Regions from separate parts of the Homo sapiens genome. Here all the other regions are linked to region 1. The links are contacts of gene promoters, found by promoter capture Hi-C in human tissues and cell types (Jung and others, 2019). All regions are on one chromosome and are shown on one strand. The core of a region is centred on a gene start or on the middle of the fragment in contact, and the rest is flanking DNA. Distances in the headings are between cores, read along the strand shown. Region 1 holds the start of ZFP62 (ZFP62 zinc finger protein). Region 2 has its middle 11 kb from the start of BTNL9. Region 3 has its middle 20 kb from the start of BTNL3.

The links. The method cuts DNA at HindIII sites, captures the fragments that hold promoters and counts their contacts. A contact is called where the count stands out against the background at its distance.
Region 2: a contact is called between a fragment that was not itself captured here and the fragment with the promoter of ZFP62 in region 1, in 1 of the 25 tissues and cell types used here (pancreas).
Region 3: a contact is called between a fragment that was not itself captured here and the fragment with the promoter of ZFP62 in region 1, in 2 of the 25 tissues and cell types used here (heart left ventricle and small bowel).

Annotation. Positions count from the first base shown.
Region 1 is chr5:180,859,851-180,862,671 of GRCh38, forward strand. It overlaps ZFP62 (ZFP62 zinc finger protein), which reads right to left and starts at 1,426. Exons shown (of 2, transcript NM_001172638.2): 1 at 1,369-1,426. The coding sequence starts at 1,369. RefSeq lists enhancers at 1,006-1,085, 1,563-2,469 and a silencer at 1,186-1,635. The HindIII fragment of the contact is 15,115 bases long and covers 1-2,821 here.
Region 2 is chr5:181,027,999-181,030,819 of GRCh38, forward strand. No RefSeq gene overlaps it. Among named protein-coding and RNA genes, the nearest start is that of BTNL9, 11 kb to the right of the region's middle. The HindIII fragment of the contact is 8,395 bases long and covers 1-2,821 here.
Region 3 is chr5:181,007,385-181,010,205 of GRCh38, forward strand. No RefSeq gene overlaps it. Among named protein-coding and RNA genes, the nearest start is that of BTNL3, 20 kb to the left of the region's middle. The HindIII fragment of the contact is 4,188 bases long and covers 1-2,821 here.

The DNA.
Region 1 (2,821 bases), core at 176-2,675:
TAATGTAAAAAAATAATTTTCTAACGGCTGTTTAGTTTCTTCTGTAAAAATCCCTACCCTAATACACTGTATTGAGTATACCATTGTTTGAAGTAACAACAAATTGGAGACAACCCAAATGCCCCCGAATAGATCTAAAAAAGGACAGAACATCGAAAACATCCAAACAATGGCCCATCCAATACTTACCACAGCTCTGTAAAACAAAACGAAACAAAACACAACTTCTGTGTTCTGACATGTAGAGACCAGTAAGATAAAGTGAAAGAATCAAGGAGTTAGAAGGATTTCTATCACCTGTGTGAAAAAAGGGGGAACTAACTAGTTATATTTGCCAGTATTTGCAGAAATTCGGAAAAGATACAAAGGAACAAAAGTGGTTACCTAAGAGGGTAGGGCCTAGGAAGATACCTAAGCGGGATGGGAAGAAATCTTTCACTGGTAACTTTTTATATTTTTAATATCCCAGCCATATGAATATATTACATATTTCATATTATTATTTTTTTTAAGCCTTGAGCTTTCACAAAGAAATGCTCCTGCTGGCCAACTACTTTAAATGTCTTAGAGCAGCACACCCAGCCCTGGCATTCCCCAGTGATCTTTTCCGTCCCACCCCTGGGTTCCCGCAGGCTGTCCCCTGGGTCTAAGAAACTCTTCGACCTTCCTCTCCCTACCTAGTTAACTCCTTTTCTGCTTGCAGGAACACGCGGCAGGTCGCCTCCTCCCCGGTGCACCCGTCTGTATGCAGGTGCGCTTCCCCAGATGAGGGCTAGGACGCACCTCCGGGGTCTCTATTCACACCTGCAGCGGGAGCTTATCATCATCACTCACCGACCAAAAAAAAAAAAGAAAAAAAGGTGGTGGGGTGGAGCGGAGGGGAAGAAGGTCGAATCAGATCACCCCTAGAGGTCTCTCTGCCCTCGCAATCACTCTCAAGTCCTAGAGTACCAAACTTAACTGCAGAGGGAGCACGAAATGGTGGGTATTTTGAAGCGCTAATTTTTAGGGATCCCCTCCCATCCAAAACAGGGATGAATAGTTGAGGAACACCGGAGCGGGGCCCTGGCCCTTCTCGGAACGTTGAGCAGACCTAACATGACGCTGGTCCGTTCAAACGTCGCAGTTGTGGCCCACACAGAGCCCAGTCTGTTCCAGGGGCGCGCCCTGCACCCCTCTGCCTGCCCGAGGTCTTCCCTCCCCTCCGCTCCCCAGAAACGCACCCACTGAGACATGTGCGGGGAGGGGGCACGCTTACTCCCACATCCCGCCCGAGACCCGCGGAGCAGCCAAGACCCGGCCAAAAAGGGGAGGGCGTGGCAGGCAAGGGCCGGGGGCGGGAGCGCGGGCGGCCGCGGACTCACGTACTGGCTGTGGCGGCGCCGCGGGAACCCGGCCGCCAGCGGGACAAAAGCGCGGACCGCACGGCCGGAAGAACCCGCGCCGGCCCTGGGGCACTTCCGCGCCCTCTCTGGGACGCTGGAGGACTGACTCGATGGTCCGGGCCGACGGCGCCGGCGGGAGGGAGGGAGGGGAGCGCCTCCTCGGCTATTTATTGAGGACCAGCTGCAGGGCGCGCGCTCCAGGCGCGGCCAGGAGGCCGTGGGCGGGGCTTTCTGTTTCCGTGCCCATTAGCTTCTGGGGTAGGCTGGGGGAGGGGCACAGGTAATAAAGTAAATACCTGCCTACCTGGTTCCTGAACACGTGATTCATTGCCAGGTGTGGGTGCGGGGACGTTCCCGGAAGTGGGGGCCTGGCGGGAAATGGGGGAATCCGGGAGGGGCGCAGGACAGCGCTGGGCTGGGGACCCATTGCCTTCTCAGCTGGTTGGGGGCTGGCCCGAGAGCACCAGCCCTTCCTGGTCGTCAGCACCAGAAGCGCCCCCGGTTAGGCACTGGGGATGCGGAGTGGGAGCGCGCCCCTGGAGCCGTCCCTGGGACCGGGCCACGCTCCCACCCGGGGCGCCAGCTTGGCAGCGACCTCGCCCCCTGCCCACCCCACCGCCGGTGTCGGCTTCCAAACCCAGGGCCTAAAATGACTTTGAAGACCTTTTTTTTTTTTTTAAATTAATGTTTGTGGGTACATAGTAGGTGTCCCTATTTGTCGAGTACGTGAGATATCTTGATACAGACAGGAATGCAATGCGTAATAATCATATCAGGGTTAATGGCGTGTCCATCACTTCAAGCATTTATCCTTTGTGTTACAAGCAATCAAATTATATTCTTATTTTTAAATATACAACTAAGTTATTGGCTATAGTCAGCCTTTTTTAAAAACAGCAACATCTAAATATTTTTCATATTAAGTTTAAATAATTGCAAAGGGTATATTTTTGGCATGCTGTTAATATTAAGAACAAAATTGCTTTCAAGTGTATCCAATGGAATCTAAATCCCTGAAGATTTGGTATTATCCACTTTTAACAGTCATAAGTTTTACATCTTTTAGGGTTTTTTTCCTTGAACTTTTATGTCCCTCACCGGCTTTTTATTCTACTGTAAAAATATTTTCATTCTATGTGCCTCATTGAATTTTATCCTAGTGTAAAATAGTTCTATGCATTGTTTTATTGTTTATTGTTTATCCTAGCATATATGTCCGTAACGAAAGTAGATTACATTTTTTCTTAGTGTTATTTTCTGGATTATTAGCAAAATTATATAAATATTTCAAAATGTTTACTGTTAATTCTTAGACAAAAAGTGAAGTGCTTTGGAAGCACAACTTGTAATGAGATGGATTTTGTTTTACAGCTCAAATTATTTATATTATTTGAATGAATTTTACATATTGCTGGGGTGAGCCGGTGTTTGGCATC
Region 2 (2,821 bases), core at 1-2,500, 170 kb after region 1:
CAGCTCAACTTGGAGTGGGAAGGTTTTCCCCTGGAGTCAGGCCACTCAGCGTCCTGGGCTCATTTCCAACTGCCCCAGCAAAACTCTGCATCACTGTGCTTCTGCTGGTCACTGGCCTTCCGCGCCAGTTTCTCCAGACGTCCACCCCACCTGTGTGTCTGCCTGCTGGGGTCTGGGAGGTTTATAGGCACAGGTTGGGGGCGTGGCAGGCCAGGGTGGTCTTGGGAAACGCAACATGTGGGCAGGAAACGCCTGTCCACACCTAGATCCTTAGGGGTGGAGCCCTAGTCACGCCCTCCTCTACCCAGCGCTTCCCTTCCCCCTTCCGTATCATTTAAAGGGACCATGCTCTTCCCTTCCCAGCACTTCCCTTCAGTCTCAATAGCGGGAGACTTCAGCATCACGCTCTTAGCAATGGCCAGATCATCAGACAGGATACAAACAAAGAAACATCAGATTTAAACCACACACTAGACTAAATGAACCTATCAGACATTTACAGAACGTGCCGCTCAAGGCCGGGCGCGGTGGTGCATGCCTATAATCCCAGCACTTTGGGAGGCTGAGGCAGGCGGATCATTAGAGCCCAGGAGTTAGAGACAAACCTGGCCAACATGGCGAAACCCCGTCTCTACTAAAAATACAAAAATCAGTTGGGCATGGTGGCGCACTGCTGTCATCCCAGTTACTTGAGTGGCTGAGGCACGAGAATCGCCTGAACTTGAAAGATGGAGGTTGCAGCGAGCCAAGATCGCACCACTGCACTCCACCATGGACGACAAAGCAAGATTCTGTCTCAAACAAACAGACAAAAAAATGACACTCAAAAGCTGCAGAATACACATCTGTCTCAATAGCACATGGAACATTCTCCTGAACAGATCATATGTTAGGCCACAAAACAAAGCTTTAACAAATTTAAGATCTAAATCATTTCAAGTATATTTTCTAACCACAATGGTATAAAACTAGAAGTCAACATCAGGAGGAAATTTGTAAACTTTGTAAATACATAGAAATTAAATAGCATGCTCCTCAACAACCAATGGATCAATTAAAAAATTAAAAAAAAATTTAAACAGGTAAAATTGAAAACACAACATACGAAAACCTTTGAGATGCAGTTCTAAGCAGTTCTAAGAGGGAAGTTTATAGCAACAAACACGTATATTAGCCATGTGTGGTGGCTCACGCCTATAATTGTAGCAGTTTGGGAGAGAGAGGCAGATGGATCACTTGGGGCCAGGTGTCTGAGACCAGCCCAGCCAACACGGCAAAACCCTATCTCTACTAAAAATACAAAAATTAGCTGGGCATGGTGGCACATGCCTGTAATCCCAGCTACTTGGGAGGCTGAGGCACAAGAATCCCTTGAACCTGGGAGGCGGAGCTTGCAGTGAGCCAAGATCCCCCCACTGCACTCCGGCCTGGGCAACAGAGTGAGACTCTGACTCAAACAAACAAACAAACAAACAAAAAACCCACATTAAAAAAAGAAGAAAGACCACAAATAAACAACCTAATATGCACCACAAGGAACTAGAAAAATAAAAACAAACTAAATCCCAAATTAGCAGCAGAAAAGAAATAATTGCTATTAGAGCAGAAATAAGTGAAATAGAGACCAAAAATACAAAAGGTCAATGAAACAAAGGCTTAGTTTTTTGAAAACATAAACAAAATCAACATACCTTTGGCAAGACAAATACAAAAAAAAGAGAGAAGACTAAAATAAATAAAATCAGGGATGAAAAGGGAGACATTACAATTGATACCACAGAAATACAAAGAATCATGACAGAGTGTTATAAAAAATTGTATGCTAAAAATTGAATAACCTAGAAGAAATGGATAAATTCCTGAACACACAACCAAGACAGAATAATGAAAAAATAGAAAATCTGAGTAGACCAATAATGAGTGAGGAAATTGAATCAGTAATAAAAAAAAATCTTGCATCCAAAAACAAACAAACAAAAAAGCCCAAGACTAATGGTTTCATGGGTGAAATGTCTTTTTTTCACAGAAATAGAAAAAATATCCTAAAATGTATATGGAACCACAAAAGACAAAACCCAAGGCAATCTTGAGCAAATAGAACCAAGGTGAAGGCATCCCAATAATTGATTTCAAACTGTATTACAAAATGATGGTAATTCATCATGGTCCTGGCATAAAAATAGACATGTAGACCAATGGAACAGAATAGAGAGCCCAGAAACAAACCCATGATGTTATGGTCAATTTATTTTGGACAAAGGTGCCAAGAACACATATCAAAAAAACAACCAGTCCCTTTAATAAAGGCTATTAGGAAATCTGAATACCCACATGCAAAATAATAATAATAATAATAATTAGACCCCTGTCTCACATCATATATCAAAATTAACTCCAAATGGGTTAAAGTTTAATTATAAGATCTGAAACTATAAAACTACTAGAAGAAAACATAGAGGAAAACTCCACAACATTGGTCTGGGAAATGATACTTTGGGTATGACCTCAAAAGCATAGGATAACCCAATTTAAAAGTGGGGAAAGGACTTGAATAAATGTTTCTCAAAAGAAGACATACAAATGGCCAAGTACATGAAAAAATGCTAATCCTCGTTAATCATCAAATAAATGCAAATTAAGACAACAATGAGATATCACTTTCTAGCTGTTTGAATGGTTATTTTCAAAGAAATGAAAGATAAGAAGTGTTGGAGAGGATATAAAGTAAATGGAATTTTTCTACACTGTTGGTGGGGATATAAATTACTATAGCTATTATTAAAAACAGTATAGAAATTCCTCAAAAAACTAAAAATACAAT
Region 3 (2,821 bases), core at 141-2,640, 150 kb after region 1:
AATTTAATTTTATGATAAAGAAAAACATTGGAGGGCTGGGCGTGGTGGCTCACGCCTGTAATCCCAGCACTTTGGGAGGCCGAGGTGGGTGGATCACAAGGTCAGGAGACTGAGACCATCCTGGCTAACATGATGAAACCCCGTCTCTACTAAAAATACAAAAAATTAGCTGGGCATGGTGGTGGACACCTGTAGTCCCAGCTACTCGGGAGGCTGAGGCAGGAGAATGGCGTGAACCCAGGGGGCGGAGCTTGCAGTGAGCCGAGATGGCGCCACTGCACTCCAACCTGGGCAACAGAGCGAGACTCCGTCTCAAAAAAAAAAAAAAAAGAAAAGAAAAGAAAAGAAAAACATGGGAAGGATCTGGCAAGATGTCTGAATAGGAACGCTCTGGCCTGCCAGCGAGACCAATGCAGAAGGCAGGGGATTTCTGCATTTCCAACTGAGGTACCCTGTTCATCTCATTGGGACTGGTTAGGCAGTGGGTGCAGCCCATGGAAGGCAGGCAGAAGCAGGGCGGGGTGTTGCCTCAACCCAGGAAGTGCAAGGAGTGGGGGGCCTCCCTCCACCAGCCAAGGGAAGCTGTGAGGGACTGTGCTATCTGGCCCAGACACTACGCGTTTCCCACGGTTTTTGCAATCCACAGAACAGGAGAGTCCCTCATGTGACTACACCACCAGGGCCCTGGGTTTCAAGCACAAAACTGGGTGGCTGTTTGGGCAGACACTGAGCCAGCTGCAGGAGTGTTTTTTTATACCCTAGTGGCGCCTGGAACCACAGCAAGACAGAACTGTTCACCCCCTGGAAAGGGGGCTGAAGCTAGGGAGCCAAGTGGGCTCACTCAGCGGGTCCCACTCCCACGGAGCCCAGCAAGCTAAGAGCCACTGGCTTGAAATTCCTGCTGCCAGCACAGTAGTCTGGAGCTGACCTGGAGCTTGGTTGGGGGAGGGGCATCTGTCATTACTGGGGCTTGAATAGGTGGTTTTCCCCTGACAGTGCTAAGGAGGCCTGGAAGTTCGGACTGGGCGGAACTCAACACAGCACGGCAAAGAGGCTGTGGCCAGACTGCCTCTCTAGATTCCTCCTCACTGGGCAGGGCATCTCTGAAAGAAAGGCAGCAGTCCCAGTCAGGGGCTTATAGATAAAAGTCCCAACTCCCTTGGACAGAGCACCTGGGGGAAGGGGCGGCTGTGGGTGCAGCTTCAGTGGACTTAAACGTTCCTGCCTGCTGGCTCTGCAGAGAGCAGCAGATGCTGACAAGGAGGGCTCTCCCAGCACAGCACTCGAGCTCTGCTAAGGGACAGACTGCCTCCTCAAGTGGGTCCCTGACCCCTGTGTCACCTGACGGGGAGAGACCTCCCAACAGGGGTTGACAGACACCTCATACAGGAGAGCTCTGGTTGGCATCAGGCTGGTGCCCCTCTAAGATGAAGCTTCCAGAGGAAGGAGCAGGCAGCAATCTTTGCTGTTCTGCAGCCTCCACTGGTTATACCCAGGCAAATAGGGTCTGGAGTGGACCTCCAGCAAACTGCAGCAGACCTGCAGAAAAGGGGTCTGACTGTTAGAAGAAAAACTAACAAACAGAAAGCAGTAACATCAACATCAACAAAAGGATCCCCACACAAAAACCCCAACCACAGGTCATCAGCCTCAAAGATCAAAGGTAGATAAATCCACAAAGATGAGGAAAAACCAGCTTAAAAATGCTGGAAATTTCAAAAATCAGAATGCCTCTTCCCCAAATGATCATAACTCCTGTCTAGTAAGGGCACAAAACTGGACAGAAAATGAGTTTGAAAGAATTGCCAAATTGACAGAAGTAGGCTTCAGCATATGGGTAATAACAAACTCCTCTGAGGTAAGGGAGCATGTTCTAGCCAAATGCAAGGAAGCTAAGAACGTTGACAAGGTTATAGGAATGGCTAACTAGGATAACCAGTTTAGAGGAGAACATAAATGACCTCATGGAGCTGAAAAAGACAGCACGAGAACTTCGTGAAGCATACACAAGTATCAATAGCCGAATCGATCAAGAGGAAGAAAGGATGTGAGAGACTGAAGAACAACTTACTGAAATAGGGCATGAAGACAAGATTAGAGAAAAAGAATGAAAAGGAACAAACAAAGCCTCCAAGAAATATGGGAGTATGTGAAAAGACCAAACCTATGATTGATCAGGGTCCCTGAAAGTGATGGGGAGAATGGAACCAAGTTGGAAAACACACTTCAGAATATTACCCAGGAGAACTTCCCCAACCTAGCAAGACAGGCCAACATTCAAATTCAGGAAATACAGAGAATGCCACAAAGATACTCCTCGAGAAGAGCAACCCCAAGACACATAATCGTCAGATTCACCAAGGTTGAAATGAAGGAAAAAATGTTAAGGTCAGCCAGAGAGAAGGGTCAGGTTACCTACAAAGGGAAGCCCATCAGATGAACAGTGGATCTCTCTGCAGAAACCCTAGAAGCCAGAAGAGAGTGAGGGCCAATATTCAACATTCTTAAAAAAATTTTCAACCCAGAATTCCATATCCAGCCAAACTAAGCTTCATAAATGAGGGAGAAATATAGTCCTTTACAGACAAGCAAATGCTGAGGGATTTTGTCACCACCAATCCTGCCCTACAAGAGCTCCTGAAGGAAGCACTAAATATGGAAAGGAACAACTGGTACCAGCCACCACAAAAACACACCAGAATATAAAGACCAATGACACTATGAAAAAACTGCATAAAGGAATGTGCAAAATAACCAGCAAGCGTCATGATGACCGGATCAAATTTACACATAACAATATTAACCTTAAATGTAAATGGGC